Linked DNA regions of Homo sapiens: region 2 is linked to region 1. Evidence: promoter capture Hi-C in human tissues and cell types (Jung and others, 2019). All regions are on one chromosome and are shown on one strand. The core of a region is centred on a gene start or on the middle of the fragment in contact, and the rest is flanking DNA. Distances in the headings are between cores, read along the strand shown. Region 1 holds the start of QRFP (pyroglutamylated RFamide peptide). Region 2 has its middle 29 kb from the start of FIBCD1-AS1.

Region 1 (3,696 bases), core at 1-2,500:
AGGGAACCCCACAGGCTTCGAGGTGGTCCACGGACTCCACCCCCAGAGCGGCTTCCTGCACCACCAGCCCCACCACCCTCACGCCTCGCCTCCCTGCATTTACCCGACAGCAGAAAAAGCCTCCAGCGCTGGAAGCCGCCCCGATGGGTACTGCCACTCTTGGACTGATCTAGCCCCGGCCACCCTGTGCATCCAGGCAGCCCAGACCCTGCCTATCTCGGCTGCTGGTGGCAAACAGTGGCACAGTTGTCACCCCCAATTGCTCAAGAGGTGGGGGAACCCAGATGCTTCCAGGGGCCCAGGAAGGGCATCTGAAAGCAATTTTTCCGTCCAGGAGTTCCAGGGGTGGAGGGGACCAGGCAAGTCCCTGGAGTCAGAAGGTTTGGCACCAAATCCAACGCCTGACTGGGCTCCAGGCACCCCGGTCTGAAGGGGGCAGGCGGGGACCTGAGGCTGGGGAACATGTGGGCCACGTGGGGACCCCTCATCCTCACCCCAATATTGCTCCCACCCCAGACCAGCCCCTCACATGCAGGACATTCTGTGACCACCTCTCAGAGCCACAGACCTCAGTCCCGCAAAAGGACTCCGGGCCCTGGTGGTTTCAAAGCAGAACCTTTTCTGGGAGCTCAACATGTCAAACACAGCAAAGTGGGGCTTGGCCTGAGGGGCACAGGGGCGCGTGCAGGGCACAGGGGTGTGTGCGGGGCACAGGGGTGCATGCAGGGCACAGGGGTGCGTGCGGGGCACAGGGGTGCCTGCGGGGCACAGGGGTGCATGTGGGTCACAGGGGTGCCTGCGGGGCAGAGAGGTGCCTGTAGGGCAGAGGAGTGTCTGTGGGGCAGAGGGGTGCGTGTGGGGCAAAGGGGTGCCTGTAGGGCAGAGGGGTAGCCTGTAGGGGAGTGGGGTGCCTGTAGGAGAGGGGTGCCTGCGGGATTGGACCCCATGTTGCCTTCCCCAACTTCCATGGCCATTCCTGAGGAATTCTGCAAAGCACAGCTTGGGAACTTGAACCTCGCTTTACACCAAGGGAGCACTGAGGCACCCAGAGGGCAGGCATCCGGTCCAGGCTCATAGCACGGTAGAGACCCACCCTGGGCGGCACCCCATGGATAACTGGTGCCCGCTGTCAGAATCAACCAGCACTAACCAGGGAGACAGAAGGACACCACACCTCCCGTCTCACGAGCACACACACGTGTACGCACGTGTGCACATACTCATGTGGGGGCATACACACACATGCACACACAGGACAGGGGCACCTCAGGCCATCGGAGGCAGCCCTGGCCTGGGGGATGGAAGCTGGTTCTGGCCAGCAAAGCTCAGTCATCGGCTTCAATCCGCAGACCCTCCGCCCGAACCTGGGCGCTCAGCCCCGAAGTGGAGGATCGAGATTCCAGTGCCTTCCTCAGGTCTCTGGGGAAGTGTCCACAGGCTCTCTATTCCCATGACTTCTGATCCCCCAGCAGCCGGGATGCAGGGGTAGGTCGGCTGGGTGAGGGCCCCTGGAATGGGGGAGGCCCTCTGTGCTCAGTTCCTGACAGTGGTGGGGTGGGGCTGCCTCATCACCCCCCTGCCTGCTCTCAGTGGAGGGAGAATCTCTGCCGGGCAAGGAGCAGAGGCTGGGTCCTCCTGCTGGCCTCCCAGAGGTGACCCTCGGTGACAGTAGGGGGCCACCCAGGGTATGCGGTGGGAGGGGCTGGGGGCCACAGGCAAATGCTCCACTGCTGTCCTGGGCATCTGCCGTGCCCCCTTGGTTGGTTCCTGGGTAACAGGCCGCTGAGGGCTCCACCTGCCGGGGAGGTGCACCTGGCTTAGCCGCGCAGCCCGGTGCCTGTGAAACACGGGCCTCATGGGTGTCTGTGGCTTTCCTGCCCATGAAAGCCATCCTGCAAGCTGGGCAGTAGGTGTGTCGGGTAGATGTCCACCCACCCCATGTCCTCTCCGGAGCGTGAGGTGCCAACCCAGCAAAGGCAGGACCCTTAGGGTGAAGGGTGGGCTTGGAACCCCCGCCAAGGGACTCGAGGGTCTGTGCCCGCAATTTGCAGTTAATGATGCTGTCTGCTCTCCTCCAAAGGGCAGCCCGCCTGCCCTCTCATCAGACTACATCCTGTGTGAGGTTGTTTTTATCAACGCGGTCAGCACTGCCCCTCTTCAACAACAGCGTCCCCAATGGAATCCCAGGGTCAGGAATGCGCAGCAGGCAGTCGGCAGAGCAGCAAGCGCACCGCGGGCCATATAAAGCAGGGAGAGCCCAGGGGCCATGCCTCCTGGACGAGGACCCAGAGCAGCTCTGCCCAGCCCAGCCCCGGAGCCCAGCGATCCACCAGCCAGCCTTCCTGGGAGCAGTCCCAGCCACACGGTGAGCATAGCTGCCCTGTCCCCAGCAGGAACCCCAGCTCAGGCCCTGCCCAGGCAGGAGCCAGGCATGGGCAGTCAGAGGGCACACAGAAGCACAGGGAGGGAGTGCCCGGAGAGGGGACACCAGTGCCTCCCCTGCCAACAGCCCAGAGCAGCACAGATTGGTCACGGCTGCCCTGCCAGGGCTGGGACCCAGCCTCACCCGTGCTTTTCCTGTCCCTTCCTGGCTGTGGGGCCTGAAGCCCTGACTCGCGCTGGGGCCGCCTGTCCCGTGATGAGCATCCCCACTTTCTACCAGATTCTTGAAGGGGTGCATGAACCCCTAAAAGGGGTGAAGGGCCACTCCAGGGCCTGCTCTGTCAGGCTGTCTCCTTTCTAGACACCCAGAGGCCACTCCCGGGTGGATTTATCCACCAGGATGCAACGGTCCCTGGTCCACATCGCAGTCAGCAAAGTGCTTCCTATGGGGAGGAGGGAATGGGCTGGGCCGCTGCAGAAAGTCACCTCGTGGAAGCCCCCACTCTGCCTGCGCCCTGATGGAAAGGTTTTCCTGGCAGCATGAGGGAGGTCACTCCATCCCTGGGGGACGAAAGCTTAGAAGAACTGGATTTGGGTAGAAAGTGGGGTTGCATGTATTATTTTTTTAAAAGCTTCCTGGCTGAGCTCGCTTCTTTGAAATGTGTTCGAGGGAGCCATTTCTGGAAAGGGCTCTGGGGACTCCTGTACTGTCTTCTCCAGGGCCGGTGCTCTCTAGTCTAGCCTCAGTTTGACTCTGCGGAGGACAAGCCAGCTCCAGCTCCCCCGCGGTCATTGTCAAAAAGGTTTTCTTTGCCAGACAAGGGAGCAAGTGTTACCAAGGCAGGTTCATTACAGGAGGCTGGGTTTCAGATCCCCCGAGTGCCATGTGGAGTACAGAGGAGGGAGTTAGGGCACGCCTTCCTGAGTCAAGCCCAGTTAGACCTGGGATTGAACTCTAGCTCTGGCACTGATAAGGCCATGAGATCTGGGGCAAGTCACCTCAGCTGTTTGAGACCGACACCACCCCTGTGAAATAGGAGGGTTGGGAGTACCTAGCAGATATGTATGCTTCTTGAAGAAGCCGTCTGGCCATTAGAATCATGAATCCAGAGCCTCCACTTTCTGGCTGTGTGGCCTGGGCACAATCTCAGTTTTTCTGACAGTTTTGTTGCCTGAAAAAGTGGGACTGGCCGGACCTACCAAGCAGGAGTACTATGAAGATGAAGTACAATCACATGTGTGAGCTCTTGGCTCAGAGCCTGGCAGACCTACGGTGCCCAGGCCCCAGTGGTGTCCACACACTCCTTCCCAGGT
Region 2 (4,191 bases), core at 288-2,787, 73 kb before region 1:
CATCCTGTGACCCAATGACCATCAGTGAGTTAAGCTCCGAGAATTCCCACTTCCAGATGAGAAAACAGGCTGGGCTCATATAACGGCCCCTCACAAAGATGGGATTTGGGTGCAGGCCTTTTCAGCTTTTTCAGCTTTGAACACGCATTTCTATCACCCAAGTCTATGCCTCTTAAAGTCAAAAGCAGGCAGGTGCTTTCTTAAGAATGGACAATGCCCATCACTAGTGGCAGAAAGGCTTTCACTCCCTCCCTCCTCCCTTCTTCCCTTCTCCATTCCTTCCTCTCTCCTCCCTCCCTTCCTCCCTCCTCCCTCCTGCCTCCTCCCTCCCTTCCTCCTTTCTTCCTCCCTCCCTCCTTCCCTCCTTCCTTTCTTCCTCTTTCCTGCCCTTCCTCCCTTCCTTCCTTCCTCTCTCTCTCTTTGCCCTTCCTTTTGGAACATGTGTCTCCACCTCTCTCTGTCTCAGTGTGTGTCTCTGCATGTCTCTGTTTCTGCAGTCGGGAGGCAGGGCCCGGGCTCTCTTTCTCCCTGTGGTGTGTGTCTCCCCGTGTGTCTCTGTCTCTGTGTGTGTCTCTGTTTCTCTGTAGGGCAGAACTCTGATTCTCTTTGTCTCCAGTATGGAGTCTGGCTATAGTAGATTATTAATAAAAAATTTTTAGCTAAGCGCAATGGTTCATGCCTGTAATCCCAGCATGAGGGAATTATGCTTTGGGAGGCCAAAGCAGGTGGATCAGTTGAGGCCAGGAGTTCAAGACAAGTCTGGGCAACATGAAGAAACCCTATCTCTACAAAAATAGAAAAATTAGCTGAGCGTGGTAGTGCATGCCTGTAGTCCCAGTTACTCAGCAGGTTGAGGTTGGAGAATTGTTTGAGCCTGGGAGGCTGAGGCTACAGTGAGCCACTGCACTCCAGCCTGGCTAACAGAGCAAGAGCCTGTCTCAAAAAAATAAAAAAGAAAAAGAAACAAAATGAACACCATGTTAAAATGTAGGTGTCTCTTGTTCCCTCCACAGTTCTTCACAGGCCTGTCCTGAGTTCTCCCACGCACAGATTGCCAGGTCTCTCGCCTCCTTCTCCAAGCTCAAAAACCACGCACAGCCTCTGCGATGCATGAGCTTCCTGAGCTGAGGCACCTCAACTCGAGTGGCCAGGGCTGGGCCCGGAGCCTCGAGGTGCCCCACCCCACCCCGCCATGCCCAGGCAGATCGGACCCTGTCTGGACGGTAACCTGGCTGGTGGTTCTTCCCACCACCACCAGGCAGCAGTTACTAGGTGCTCACTGTGGCCAGGCACGCACGAGATCCCTTTCCATCCTCACCTCCCCACCAGGAGGAAGAGCCTTTTTTTTGAGACAGAGTTTCACTCTTGTCACCCAGACTGGAGTGCAATGTCACGATCTTGGCTCACTGCAACCTCTGCCTTCTGGGTTCAAGCGATTCTCCTGCCTCAGCCTCCTGAGTAGCTGGGATTACAGGCATGTGCCACCATGCCCAGCTAATTTTTTTTTGTATTATTAGTATAGACGGGGTTTCACCATGTTGGCCGGGCTGGTCTTGAACTCCTGGCCTCAGATGATCCACCCACCTCGGCCTCCGAAAGTGCTGGGATTATAGGCGTGAGCCACCTCGCCCAGCCTATTTTATTTTTTTGAGAGGGAGTCTTGCTCTGTCACCCAGGCTGGAGTGCAGTGGCACAATCTCCGCTCACTGCAACCTCTGCCTCCCGGGTTCAAACGATTCTCAGGCCTCAGTCTCCCGAGTAGCTGGAGCTACAGGAATGCGCCACCAGGCCTGGCTAATTTTTTTGTGTTTTTAGTAGAGACAGGTTTTTGCCATGTGGCCAGGCTGGTGTCAAACTTGTGGCTTCAAGTGGTCCGCCCGCCTCAGCCTCCCAAAATGCTGGGATTACAGGCCTGAGCCACCGCGCCTGGCCCATTTTAATCATGTTAAAGTACACAGTTCAGCAGCATTTAGACCATTCACCATGTTGTGCTGTGTGAACTTTTTCATCACCCCAAACACAAACCAATTAAGCAGTCACGCTTCATCCCTCCTTTCCCTCCAGCCCCTGGAAACTATTAATCTGTTTTCCATCTGTGGATTTGCCTATTCCTGACATTTTATAGAAATGGGACCATACATATGTGGCCTTTTGTGTCTGGCTTCTTTTTTTTTTTTTTTTTTTGAGATGGAGTTTTACTCTTGTGGCCCAGTCTGGAGTGCAGCGGTGCGATCTTGGCTCACCGCAACCTCCACCTCCCAGGTTCAAGCGATTCTCCTGCCTCAGCCTCCAGAGTAGCTGGAATTACAGGCACCTGCCACCACCATTAGCTACCATGCCTGGCTAATTTTTTGTATTTTTAGTAGAGATGGGGTTTCATTATGTTGGCCAGGCTGGTCTCAAACTTCTGACCTCTTTTTTTTTGTTTTGTTTTGAGATGGAGTCTCGCTCTGTCCCCCAGGCTGGAGTGCAGTGGCGCGATCTCGGCTCACGGCAAGCTCCACCTCGCATGTTCACGCCATTCTCCTGCCTCAGCCTCCTGAGTAGCTGGGACTACAGGCACCCGCCACCACACCCGGCTAATTTTTTGTATTTTTAGTAGAGACGGGGTTTCACCGTGTTAGCCAGGATGGTTTCGATCTCCTGACCTCGTGATTCGCCTGCCTCGGCCTCCCAAAGTGCTGGGATTATAGGCGTGAGCCACCGTGCCTGGCCTGTGTCTGGCTTCTTTCATTGAACATGATTTTGAGGTTCTTCCATGTTGTAGTAGGTGCCAATACTTCACTCCTTTTTATTGCTGAATAATATTCTATTGCATGGATAGACCCACATGTTCTTTATTCGTTCATCCACTGATGGACATCTGAGCTGTTCCCATGTTTTGGTGATTGAGAACAATGCAGCTATTATCATTCGTATACAGGCATAGCTTGGATATATTACAGGTTTCATTCCAGACCACTACAATGAAGCAAATATCACAATAAAGGGAGTTACACAATATTTTTGGTTTCTCAGTGCATATAAAAGTTAAGCTTGGCCAGGCGCAGTGGCTCACACCTGTAATTCCAGCACTCTGGGAGGCCGAGATGGGTGGATCACGAGGTCAGGAGTTGGAGATAAGCCTGGCCAACATGGTGAAACCCTGTCTCTACTAAAAATACAAAAATTAGCTGGGCGTGGTGGTGCACGCCTGTAATCCCAGCTACTCAGGAAGCTGAGGCAGGAGAATCACTTGAACCCAGGAGGCGGAGGTTGCAGTGAGCTGAGATTGCACCACCACACTCCAGCCTGTGTGACAGAGCAAGACTCTCTCTAAAAACAAAAAAAAAAAGTCAAGCTTACATGACACTGTAATCTACTAAGTATGCAATAGCATTATGTCTAAAAAATGTACATACCCTAATTAAAAATATTTTATTGCTAAAAAGTGCTAATGATCATCTGAACTTTCACCAAGTCGCCATCGGTTTTCCGGTGGAAAGTCTGGCCCTGATGTTGGTGACTGCTGACTGATCAGGGTGGTGGTTACTGAAGGTTGGGGTAGCTGTGGCAATGTCTTAAAATCAGACAACAGTGAAGTTTGCCGCATCGATTGAGGCTTCCTTTCACAAAAGACTTCTCTGTAGCATATGATGCTGTTTGATAGCATTTTATCCACAGTAGAACGTCTTTCAAAATTGGAGTCGATCCTTTTCCCGCTGCTGCTTTATCAACTAAATTTATGAAATATTCGAAATCCTTTGTTGTCATTTCAACGATGTTCACAGCATCTTCACCAGGCCTAGATTCCATCTCAAAAAACAACTGTCTTTGCTCATCCATAAAAAGCAACTCCTCACATTCAAGTTTGATCATGAGATTGAAGCAATTCAGCCCTATCTTCAGGCTCCACATCTAATTCTAGTTCTCTTGCTATTTCCGCTACATGTGCAGTGACTTCCTCCACTGAAATCTTTGGGTTTTTTGTTTTGTTTTGTTTTTGAGATGGAGTTTCACTCTTTTTGCCCAGGCTGGAGTGCAATGGCACCGTCTCGGCTCACCACAACCCCCACCTCCCAGGTTCAAGCAATTCTCCTGCTTCAGCCTCCCGAGTAGTTGGGATTACAGGCATGCACCACCACGCCCGGCTAATTTTGTATTTTTAGTAGAGACGGGGTTTTTACGTGTTAGTCAGGCTGGTCTCGAACT

What was found. The method cuts DNA at HindIII sites, captures the fragments that hold promoters and counts their contacts. A contact is called where the count stands out against the background at its distance.
Region 2: a contact is called between a fragment that was not itself captured here and the fragment with the promoter of QRFP in region 1, in 3 of the 25 tissues and cell types used here (H1 embryonic stem cells, IMR-90 fibroblasts and mesendoderm cells).

Annotation. Positions count from the first base shown.
Region 1 is chr9:130,894,366-130,898,061 of GRCh38, reverse strand. QRFP (pyroglutamylated RFamide peptide) reads left to right here and starts at 1,250. Exons shown (of 3, transcript NM_198180.3): 1 at 1,250-1,485; 2 at 2,081-2,365. RefSeq lists enhancers at 1,755-2,441, 2,442-3,129. The HindIII fragment of the contact is 19,380 bases long and covers 228-3,696 here.
Region 2 is chr9:130,967,198-130,971,388 of GRCh38, reverse strand. No RefSeq gene overlaps it. Among named protein-coding and RNA genes, the nearest start is that of FIBCD1-AS1, 29 kb to the right of the region's middle. The HindIII fragment of the contact is 5,841 bases long and covers 1-4,191 here.